3 separate regions of the Homo sapiens genome follow, and all the other regions are linked to region 2. The links are contacts of gene promoters, found by promoter capture Hi-C in human tissues and cell types (Jung and others, 2019). All regions are on one chromosome and are shown on one strand. The core of a region is centred on a gene start or on the middle of the fragment in contact, and the rest is flanking DNA. Distances in the headings are between cores, read along the strand shown.

Region 1 (4,063 bases), core at 1,249-3,748, 140 kb after region 2:
GAGATGGGGTTTCACCGTGTTGGCCATGATGGTCTCGACCTCCTGACCTCGTGATCCGCCCGCCTCAGCCTCCCAAAGTGCTGGGTTTACAGGCGTGAGCAACCATGCCTGGCCTGCTACAGCATTTTAACTAGTCTCCTGATTCCTGCTTTCTTGGTTTCCTGCTTCCTCAGTTCAACTAGTATTCCTTTGTTCCCAAAAGAAAAGCTGACCATGTTCATCTCATGCCTGGAACACTTTAACAGCCCCAAGGCTGTTTCTGTTGCTTGAAGGTGCTATGCTCATCTTCTGTCCCTAACCACACTGCTACTTTCCATCCCCTCTTGCCTGAAATATACCACACACACCAGCCTCTTTACTTAGCTTAATGTTGCTCATCTTTTTTCTTTTGAGACGGCATTTCACCCTTGTTGCCCAGGCTGGAATGCAATGGTGCAATCTTGGCTCACTGCAACCTCCACCTCCTGGGTTCAAGTGGTTCTCCTGCCTCAGTGTCCCAAGTAGCTGGAATTACAGGCATGCTTCACCATGCCCGACTAATTTTGTATTTTTTCAGTAGAGACCGGGTTTCACCACGTTGGCCAGGCTGGTCTCAAACTCCTGACCTCAAGTGACCCACCCGCCTCGGCCTCCCAAAGTGCTGGGATTGTAGGTGTGAGCCACCACACCTGCCCTTGCTCATCTTTTAAGTGTCATCTTCACCGTCACTGGTAAAATACTCTTGCTGCCATGGTGCTCTGTGCTTTTAGTCATAATATTTGTTGCTTCTTACTGTTATTGCTTATTTGTAACTTATCTCTGTGAGGGCTGAGACCAGTGTTCCGTGCTCACAATCATGTTCTTGTAGATAATACCAAGTAAGCACTAAAAATAATTGCTTGAATTGCCTATATGAATTCTTGTCTTCTACTTCCATTGTTGATTAAATAATAATAAGCTCTAAATATTGCTTTAAGGAATAGGCATAATTCACTCAAGACATGTAGAGAAATTCCTGGCATATATTATTCACTTAATGTATGCTAGCTATTACAATTGTTATTATTCTTTTCTCTCTTTAATTACAGCAGTCAGTATGGGCTTAATTATAATTACCTGATAACTAAAAATTTCTTTCTTACTTTGAAGCTAAATGGAATACTTAAAAATGTAGATGCATTAATCAATTAAACAAATGCATCAGGTTAATAGTATTTCTTATTCCAATGAAACAAAGAATCATATTGTTATATACTATATATATAACTCATCATATTATTATAAATTATGCACCAATATATTTGCAAAATAATGCATTGAATTATTATTAAATTCTTCTGCAAATGGTGTGTGATTTGTTTTCTCAAAGCTTAACTTAATGGGAAAGGCTTGAGAGAAATTGTCATTGTAAAGAAAATAAATCCTGGATACTTATGACCTAAAAGGAAATCTGGCATGTATCTCTTAATATTCTTAGAAATTACTCAAAGGTTCAGCTTTTATTAATTCATAACTCTTCAAAGTTATGAATCAATAGATCCTAAACTCCAATCTCCCATCCAATATTTGAATCTCTGTGGCACCATCTTAGCCCGGTGAATGAACAGCCACTGCATGGAAAGGGAGAAGATTAAAGCTCTATTAGTTCCCATAGCAACATATGATTTATTAAAGTTTTATCTATGATTTTTTTAAGAATGCATTCTCTGCAAATCAGAAACAAATTATAACATAGTCATAGAAGAAAAAATGAAGATGGATGGTGGATAAGGAAACAATTGAGATATTTATATTAGTTTCCTTCTTTGTCAGGCATTAAATAATTATACAGGTAGGAGTTATAACCAGAAAAGATGCAAAATATCAGTCTTATTCTATCACCATTATATCATTCAATATTACTCTTATTCCCAATTTACAAGCTTTCTTCATTGTCTCCTAGCTATTCTTTGTTGATATTCTTTCTCTCCATCTGATTCCTCCTTCCTCCCTTTTTACTTTCATGCTTCTCTTCCTACTAGCTCTCTTTGTTTGTCCAGGTATTCTTTCATTTCTATAATACAATAATATGGTTTTACCTTAATAACCCAGAAACTGAACTATAATAATAAAAATAAATACTCTGACACAGGAGGGGTAGGCTGGACAGCCACAGTGAGAATATGTGGTTAAAGGCTCAAAACATGTAGGCTGGTTATGTGGATGGATAGATAAATTTAATTTTACAGATATTTCTCAAGTTCCAAACAGTAAAGTACTATGCTGTATACTGTGATAGATGATAGGTGAGGTCTCATTTTCTGTACTTCAATGGCTAAAATCTCCCAGAAATTTTATATACAGAACTAACTAAACATAGCACAAAGGAGATGGTAAGAAACAATGCAAAGAGAGGAAGAAGTGAGAAAAAAGAGGCACAGCAGAAGAGAGAAGGGGAATCTTATGCAGGGAGGAGGAAATAGAAATAAAGTAGTTAACAAATGGAAAATTAACATGGACTACAAGAAAGGCATGTTTCAGAACTTCAAGCACATTAACATTGGTTTTTTCAAATCATGTGGATCTAACACACAGCCACTGGTGAAAATGCTGCGTGCTATGACTTTATTCAGTTTTTTTGTTTTGTTTTGGGTTTTTTTTTGGAGACTGAGTCTCACTCTGTCACCCAGGCTGGTGTGCAGTGACACAATCTCGGCTCACTGCAAGCTCCACCTCCTGGGTTCAAGGGATTCTCCTGCCTCAGCCTCCTAAGTAGCTGGGATTACAGGCACATGCCACCACGCCCAGCTAATTTTGTTTTTTTTTTTGTATTTTTAATAGAGGGGGGTTTCACCATCTTGGCCAGGCAGGTCTCCTGACCTCAAGTGATCTGCCCACCTTGGCCTCCCAAAGTGCTGGGATTACAGGTATGAGCCACCGTGCCCAGCTGACTTTATTTAGTCTTTATTATAAATTGAATAAAACCTTTGTAAATAGAGATATTTTGTTTGTTGTAACCTGTGTGGATTATTGTAAATTAGCATGATATACTTGTTTCAGACCACCAATAACAGCCATCTTATGAACAGAGGCTTTCAAATAATAGGCAAATGTGTGAAAAGAGACTTAAACATTTCTGTAAAGAATTCTATGAAAATTTTCAACATTGTCATTAGAACTTGTACCATTAAAATTTTCTAATAATAAAAATCATTTTTAAAAATTATTTTAATGATGCTAAATTTCTATTTTTCACTTTTTGAAATACATATGGTAGCAAGCAATAAGAAAATATTTAATGATGACATGCCAATTAACAAGTTCAATATGTCAAGTAAAAGTAATAATGTTTCCTTAACACCAAATAGCACAGCATGATTTATATAAATGCCCATCCTTCCAAAGAATGGAATCCTTTCACTTGGTGCAATAAGTTGAATACTGTCTTTTTACAGCTGTTCTCAAAGACAAAGATATTTTTGAGCTTCATTTATAAAACATAAATATCATATTGTTGTTCCAGCCTTCTTGTAATTCAAAATAGCATCAGTGCTGGCTGAACATATTACTCATGCATTGGAAAGTTAGAAATGGTGACAATTTGAAGTTAACATTGTGAAATGAAGATGAACGTGCAAAATGTTCTAGCTATATTCTGTTTTATGTGAATAACCTGAACATATTTCTTCTTTATATATTGGTTTAAGAAGATGTTATAAATACCTAACTTGGGGACAGAAGAATTTTAGTAAAGGAGAAGAGACATTTAAAATTACTTCTACGTCTTACTCTAAGAACAATCTGCCAATTAGTAGAGTTGTATGTTTCCAGGTACACAGCCATGTGTCCTAAGATTCAGACAGAAGGTTGTGAGTTTACAGGAAGAAAGAAATCGATTCTTTCTGGGGTATCCTAAAGGCTTCTCACAGAAAGTGGCACTTGAATAGTGTCAGATATTTGAAGCAGGGACAGGATATTTCAACAAGAAGGAATGCATAAATAGGACATAGACAGGGAAGCAGCCGGGGCATATGGAGACTGGGGAGTTTGGCTATTTAATGGGGTTCATGGAGGTTGTGACAGAGAAGTAGTGTCAGATAAGATG
Region 2 (4,023 bases), core at 129-2,628:
TCCTGTCTCCTGTTGCCCAAGCATGTCTCAGGTATAAATAAGTTCCAATACTGACAGGGCACAGCAAGGGTAATTTACATGACAATAAGAAATGATTTCTATCTGAACAGTGCATACCAGAGTTGATTTCGACAGACTTATCTTTAAAAAAATACACATAACAAAAAAGGAGACAAGTAGTAGATTGGGGACCCACAGCTTGAAAGTCGTTGCTTGTGATTCTAAAACATCCCAGTAAAATTATTCACAGATAATTGTTTAAAAATATAACTGTACATACCGTTGACACTTGGACAACACAGAGAATCACGTAGTTGAAAATCCACATATAACTTTGAACTCATCAAAACCTTAACTACTAATAGCCTACTCTTGACCGGAAACCTTACTGATAACATAATAAACAGTTGATTAACACACATTTTGTGTTGTATGTATTGTATACTGTATTCTTACAATAAAGTACGCTAGAGAACAGAAAATATTATTAAGAAAACCATAAAGAGGAGAAAATACATTTATATTCATTGAGTGGAAGTGAATTATCATAAAAGTCTTTAACGTCATCCTTTTCAGGCTGAGCAGGCAGAGGAGGAGGAAGAGGGTTTGGTCTTGCTGTCTCAAGGCTGGCAAAGGTGGAAGAAAATCTGCATATAACTGGACCCAACAGTTCAAACCCGTGTTGTTCAAGGGTCATACATGTAAAATACTGTGATTTTTCCCCCTTCTATATTCAGCTTCAGGTGACCCGACACACTTTGGTATCAAAAGAGAATCTGAAATGTACAAGAACTGCGGATTTCAAATGGAAAAGGTGCATAATTGTGCTATTTGTTCCTGGGTGAGTGTGGGACGGAGACGGTGAGAGTGTTGAAATGGGATGGAGATAATGGAAGCAGTGGGGAAGGAGAGAAAATACCCTTCCTATCACACACACTCACACACTCACACTACACACTATTTCTACAGTCACAACTACCCAACTGTTATTGATCCTTTATAACTGCAATTGAGTACAGATGTAGGAAGATTGAGAGGGAACTGGGATCTGGCGCCTGGATTGCTCAAGAGAGGTCAGGGAAACCCCTCAGAACTCCTGAGACCCAGAGATTGAGGGAGGGGTTGAGGCGGAGTCTGCAATGGGGGCTGTCCAGCAGTAGCAAGCAGCGGGCCGATCCTGGTGGAGGGTTGGGAGGCTGCTGTCATTTTATGGGTCGGCAGCCAGAGTGAGAGTGTCCCTGCTGCCAGAGGACTACGGCGGGCTGGGCGCGGGGTCCCCGCCTCTCGCTCACCACACAGACCCCGCGCCTCCTCTGGCAGCCGCGGTGGTGGCGGCGGCAGAGCCTCGCCCACTCCAATCCCCACCCTCTCCATCCTTAGTCATTAAAGAACAGCAGCGCCTGGCACGTTCTTGGAGGACCCCGGGCGCAGAGGAGGAAAGGGAGCAGGCGCAGGGGGACTGGAAAGGCAGCATGCGCTCGCCAGGAGCAACCTCGGCGCCCAGGGTCTGAGGCTGCAGCCCCAGTTCGCCATTGTGAGCCGCCGCCGGGGGAGTCCGCTAGCGCAGCCGTGCCCCCGAGTCCCCGTCCGCGCAGCGATGGGGCACCTGCCCACGGGGATACACGGCGCCCGCCGCCTCCTGCCTCTGCTCTGGCTCTTTGTGCTGTTCAAGGTAGGGGAGCTCCTCCACCCCTTTTTCCCAGCGGTCCGGGCGGCAGCCGCGCTCCGGCGCCCTCGCTCTGCCGTTGGGAGCGGCGCGCCCCAGGGCACGATGGCCCAGCCGCGGGAAGCGCCTGCCGTGCAGCCTGGGCGCACGCTTTGTTGTCCTCGCGTGTGCGTGTTCCTGGTGGTCTTGAGAGGTAGGGGGCGGGGGGAAGAATAAGGGAAGTTTGCTCCCTCCGGCTTTCGCCCTTTGTGCTCTTTTATCGCTGCTGAAATCCACATCAAAGGTGGGCTTGTTGGATCGTGCTTTCTCAGGCAAAATGAGGTCACTTTCTTTTCTGGTTTCCACTGCACCCCAACGCTGCTTAACCTTTCCGCCCTCCCTCGCACAGAATGCTTTGTCTTAATTTTCCTTACTGCTGGAATTATACACTGGAGAGTGGAGGGGGACTGAGCTCCCTGGACACAAATGGACTGCCAGGGCTACGTTAGGGCAGAATTTTCTTTGAATAAGGAGTGTCAGGTAGAGAGCTTGGTAAGGATTCCTCTCCCCAACTCCTATCAACATCTTTACAATTCCTTTTAAAAAGTCTCCAGACTTTCTCCACTATATTTACAGATGATATTACCCCTAGATTTAATGGTGGAAAAATATATAATAATAAACTTTTTCGTATCTTCTTTGGAATGTGCTACCCTGAGGTTTTACTTTGAGAAAAATGAAAAGCAAAGGAGTTGCTTTTGAAAAATCAGTTTGACAACTATACTGTACATAAATTTTTTTGAAGAAATGTCAGCTAGATGTTTTCTTGGACGGCGATGTGAAGTTCTGAAGTGATTGTCTATCACTCATGTCTTCAGTGGATCTACTTTAGTTCTGTTGTTAGTCTTTTCCTCTCTCCGCAAAGCAAACTCAAGAATGTCGACAGGTGACTTGGAGCTATCCTTTCAGGACCACAGTGATACCTTCCCTAGAAATGGATGCCAGGTTAATGGATCCAAAGGTTTTCTTATTATAGAGTCACTTCTTGCTTATATGCACCATTAATTATGAATGCCTAAAAAGAATATAATGGAACAGGACCAATGGATTAAGAACAGCATTACTTTTAAATACTCCATATTTTCATTTATCTTAATGAAAAATATAAAAAAAATTCAGGGAGAAACAGCAACAGAATGCCTAAGTAAGACCTTAAAATATATTTAATATGTTTTAACATTTTTTCTTAAATTATCAATAATCATTAATTTTAAAGTATGGTAAATAATAAGCTCAGTTATATGTTTTTACTGTAGGAGGTTGTTCTTTCATACACATCATAAATGCATTAGACTTATTAGGTTGTCTATTAGTCGTTTTCTAACTATTTATCAAACTGTCACAACTATTTTACCTATGCAATAATTGTCATGAACCAAAAATTAGAAACCAAGTCACTATGCATTTTACGAGCAACAGCTAAGAGTTATATGTATGACATCTGATCCAAACCTAACGTTTAGCACAACTGCAGGTTTTTGCGTGAGTTCTTCATAATGAGATAATTCCAGAAATAAGAGAATGACTTGGTTGGGAGTGGGGGTAAGGTTTTGCAATTAAAATAAAATAAATGTGGCCATTGTTTGACTTAAAACTCGATATTGGAATGAGAAAATGCAGTTAGTGATGGTGTAATGAAAATGTTAGTGATTGTCATAGAGGTCCAGCCTGCTTCACATAATAGGTATATTCCTGAACATTGCAGGTAAATGTAAATTATGGCAAACTGCTTCCATAGTAAATACATTGGCAAAGTTTGCCATTTAAATAATAATTATTGTAGTGGGACACATAATTTTGTAAGAAAAATCATTTTCCTTTATTTTATGTGAATGTAATATTTTTGTCACCTGAATATAAACTATATCAGAGGAAAGAAGAAAAAACTGTATATATTAAATACCTTCTATGTGCTGGTTTTTTAGGCATTTTACATACGTTATTTCATTTAATCCTATTTTGCTGCAGTTGACAAGAGTTGTTCAAAAAAAATGGTAAATTGGGCACACAGTGTAATATCTTACATTTAGAGGATAGTATATTACATGGTGCGTTGGGCACATGGTATAATCTCTTTATAATTTGGAGATATTTTTGAATTAAAGGTCCTGATTAAGTGCCAGTAAAACAGATCTACTCAAGCAGGTTGTGACTGGAGGATGAGAAAAAATTCATTATTAAATACCAAACTGCTAACTGTATCTCAATAATAAAATCCAAAATGTTCCACGTGTGCCGAGTCAGAAATGAAACATTCTCTCAACTCTCCCTTGCCAAAATAATTTCCATAGTTTTCACTATAGTTAATACATTTTTCA
Region 3 (4,023 bases), core at 462-2,961, 200 kb after region 2:
TTAATCTTTAACAGTGAGATGTAAGAGCTCCAACTATTGATTTCATTTATATTTAGAATTATGATTTGAGCTTTTTCTTCAGGATGCCAAACATTTTCAAGAAAACTACAATTAACGTGTTTCCCATTTTTTCCCATATATCACCGACACCTAAAGATTTGGGGACCTTGGGACTACTGATTTCTTTTCTCCAAAATACGCTTTTGGATGTTTATTGATAAGGGGACAGACTAAACTACTGTAATAAAGAAACAAACAAAAAGAGAGTGGCTCAAACAAAATAGAAGTTTATACCTCTCCCATGATAGCACAGGACTAACCAGGCACTTCTGCTTTAAGGGGTCACCCAGGGAGGCAAATTCTGTTTTGTTGTTCCATCTGCCACTATGCATAGTCCTTGTCTCTAGAGAGGAAGCTTTATCACCATTACATGCATGTTCCAGCCTGCAGGAAGGGGAAAAGAAAAGGGATGATGTGGAAGCCCAGCACTTACAGGATGTGAACTGAACTGTCATTTGTCCATGTGACTTCTACTTACAATCCACTGATCAGAGCTGGGTCACATCATCCCCTCTAGCTGTAGGAGAGGATGGGAAATAACAATGGCTGTTAGGTAGGAAGCCACACGTCTACAGATATGGGTAGGTTTCTTTTGAACGTCTTAGAATGTACATATCAGTAGCAACTCAGTAATTGTCTTTTCTAAAACCTGTTATCAATATGTGAGAAAATGTCAGAATGAGACCCATTCCAAATAAGGGAATTCATTGCAAAATTTTTCTGATGTATATAATGCATTATTAAGGCTACCTCACATTGGGCCCAGCTGAGGAATTTATAAAATTTTCAGAAGATATAACGTATCTATAATATAATCAATTGCAGACTGCTGCATAGAACAGAGAGGGAATGTGTCTGCTATAGTCCTTTAGTTGTTTGGGGTGGTGCACTGATTCATTCACTAAAAGTTTAAACCCTTGATTTTGATGATCTTGCAGGTAACACGCAATGTCATGACTGCAATTCTCAGCTTGCCTCCAGGCGACATCTATAACCTCTCAGTAACTGCTTGTACTGAAAGAGGAAGTAATACCTCCATGCTCCGCCTTGTCAAGCTAGGTAAGAAGAGTGCACAGAGATGGGTGTGAAATAATCACTAATGTTTGCATCATTCGATTCAGCAAGAGCTCCTCAATTCAATGAAATAATAACAGAAAAATGGCTAATTTTTTATGAGTAGAAAATAGACATTTGTACTAGCAAAAGGGTATGTTCAACTTGGTACAAGTTTCTGTGAGTGGGTTGTATACTGTTCTGGGAAACAGTGGTGTTCGCTGTTCTTTGTAAGGTTAAAGAAACCAGGTAGTCATAGGATTTTGGAGATGGAAGCACATTAGAGATTATCTAATGCAGTGTTCACAACCCTATAAGACAACATTCTATTTTCATATTAATATTATGTAATGCTCTCTTTAATATCTTAAATAGTAATGGATTTAAAAATCTACATATTGATTTTTTAAATTTTATATAGTTTCCCAACTCCAGAATAAAATCAAGACAAAAAGAAACTAATTTATAATAAAATAATATGGATTTCCTAAATATATGGTCAGACACAACTACTCTAAAAGACATAATGAAATTACCTGATGCCTAGATATAATTAAAATGAATAAGTTGGGGTTTATAAGAAATAAAAAGATCATTAGTCCTTCATATAAGAAGTATAAAAATAAGCAAAGAAATGAACAAGTTAATATAAATTGATAACAAATAACTAAACAAGCATAGATACAGGTAGATACTAGAATAAAAACTAGAGTTAAAATAAGTACTAAAAGATGAGATATATTTTCATATAATGAGAGAAAGATGGAAATAATTTTAATTAAAGTAGGGACAACACACCAAAAGTTTATAAATGGCAGCATAGAAGCAAGCTGGCTTCACTCCCCTCTACCCAACAGAAAACCAAAAGCAAATATACACTCTGAGATTTTCACCAGCAACAACCCAGAACTCAAATACGAGGATGCGACCGATTCCAGAGCCATAGAGAAGTGAAAATACTCTGGGCAGATGGTAGGAGAATCAGGCTTCCACATTCGTGACGCCTCCCCCGCGATTCTGCCTGGCAACAAGTGTGCAGAAAATCTTCTGCCAACTCATGTTTCTACACTGGAAAAAGTGAGGTTGAGGTAGTCAACTAGTTTCCCCACTATCTTGGGCTCCCTGGCAGGAAATCTGTCCTTGCCTTAACCCACAGGAAGCATCGTGACTGCCTGAAGGGAGAAATAGCTTGAGGATAGGCAGAAACAAAGAGATGAGATGGAACTACCATTCCCAGTCCCAGCAACTCTGCTCTGTAACTTGGCCAAAGGAGACACCAAATCAGAGTGGCTGTTCAGCAGCACCATACTGTAGGAGGTACATTTCACAGGTCCCTTGGGCATGAGCCCCCCAGCTAACTTTGACACACTGCCAGGATAATTCCTTTAAGACCTTTCTTTTTCAGGACAGGCAGAGCCAAGGCAAATCTGGACTTAAGGTGCCACCTAGAGCTGAAATGTAGGCAGTGATCTAGTGGTAAATATTTGCTAGGCAAACATAGCCAATAAAAGACAAAACAAGGCAAGGCAGACAAAGGAAAGTGGACTAAATAGTTAATTATTTAATGCAAAGACATAGTTCTATGCCCATAAGAAACAACATCAAACAGGGAACTGTGACCCGCCCACGCTACCCAGGAAAAGGACAAAGCAAAAATCCAATGACTGACCCTAACAAGATGGTGATCTGTGAGCTCTCTGAACAAGAATTCAAAATACAGTTTAAGGAAAATCAGTGATGTCCAGGAAAACACAGAAAAGCAATTCAGAAATTTATCAGAGAAATTTTTAAATCAAACAAATTCTTGGTACTGGAAAATACGTTTGCTGAACTGAAAAACACATCACAGCAGAATGGACAAAGGAGTGGAATGATTCAGGGAGCTAAAAGCCTATCTGAAAATACACCATTGGAGGAGAAAAAAGAAAAATAAGACTGAAAGTAAGTGAAGTCTGACTATAAGATATTAAAAAAAAAAGGCTGGGCACGGTGGCTCACACCTGTAATCCCAGCACTTTGGGAGGCCAAGGCGGGCAGATCACGAGGTCAGGAGATCAAGACCATCCTGGCTAACATGGTGAAACCCTGTCTCTAATAAAAATACAAAAAAAAAAAAAAAATTAGCCAGCATGGTGGCGGGTGCCTGTAGTCCCAGCTACTCGGGAGGCTGAGGCAGGAGAATGATGTGAACTCAGGAGGTGGAGCTTGCAGTGAGCCGAGATCGCACCACTGCACACCAGCCTGGGTGACAGAGCAAGAATCTGTCAAAAAAAAAAAAGGTATTAAAAAAACCTTAAAAGATCAAACATAAGAATTATTAGTATTCAAGGGGGAGCTGAATAAGGAAGTTTACTGAAAGAAATAATAATAGAAAACATTCCAAAACTTGAGACAGGTACAAATAGCCAGGTTCATGAGGGTCTGAGAATACCAAACAGATACCACTCAAATAAAATCACCCCAAAGCGTATAATACTCAGACTCTCAAAGGTCAAGGACAAAGAGAAGATCCTGAAAGCATCAAGAGAAAAGGAGCAAATAACAGGTAAACAAGCTGCAATTCACCTGGCAACAAACTGTACAGGCCATGAGGAAGAACATTTTTACAGTGCTCAAAGAAAAAAAACTGCCATCCAAGAATAATGTATCCAGCAAAATTGTCCTTCAAATATGAAGGAAAGATAAAGTATTTCTCAGAAAAACAAAAGATGAAAGAATTCACCACTACCAGACCTGTCATACAAGAAATGCAAGAGAGTTCTTCAATCTGAGAGAAAAAGACACATGCGAAAAGAAAACTTTTCAAGGTATTAGACCTTTGGGAAAATTAAATGCATGGACCAACCCAGGATATTCTGTTACTGTGATTGTGGTGTACAATCCATCCATAACTCTGGTATAAAGCCCAAA

What was found. Contacts are between HindIII fragments. The study calls those that stand out against the background at their distance.
Region 1: a fragment that was not itself captured here is called in contact with the fragment with the promoter of PTPRO in region 2 in 3 of the 25 tissues and cell types used here (H1 embryonic stem cells, dorsolateral prefrontal cortex and mesenchymal stem cells).
Region 3: a contact is called between a fragment that was not itself captured here and the fragment with the promoter of PTPRO in region 2, in 2 of the 25 tissues and cell types used here (hippocampus and lymphoblastoid cells).

What each region holds. Positions count from the first base shown.
Region 1 is chr12:15,461,752-15,465,814 of GRCh38, forward strand. All of the region lies in intron 1 of PTPRO (protein tyrosine phosphatase receptor type O), which reads left to right. Among named protein-coding and RNA genes, the nearest start is that of PTPRO, 140 kb to the left of the region's middle. The HindIII fragment of the contact is 5,115 bases long and covers 1-4,063 here.
Region 2 is chr12:15,321,130-15,325,152 of GRCh38, forward strand. PTPRO (protein tyrosine phosphatase receptor type O) reads left to right here and starts at 1,379. Exons shown (of 27, transcript NM_030667.3): 1 at 1,379-1,672. The coding sequence starts at 1,598. The region is part of intron 2 of LOC105369673 (a long non-coding RNA gene); the gene reads right to left. The HindIII fragment of the contact is 7,625 bases long and covers 1-4,023 here.
Region 3 is chr12:15,525,144-15,529,166 of GRCh38, forward strand. It overlaps PTPRO (protein tyrosine phosphatase receptor type O), which reads left to right. Exons shown (of 27, transcript NM_030667.3): 12 at 999-1,119. Among named protein-coding and RNA genes, the nearest start is that of PTPRO, 200 kb to the left of the region's middle. RefSeq lists enhancers at 415-1,614, 1,143-1,212. The HindIII fragment of the contact is 4,719 bases long and covers 1-4,023 here.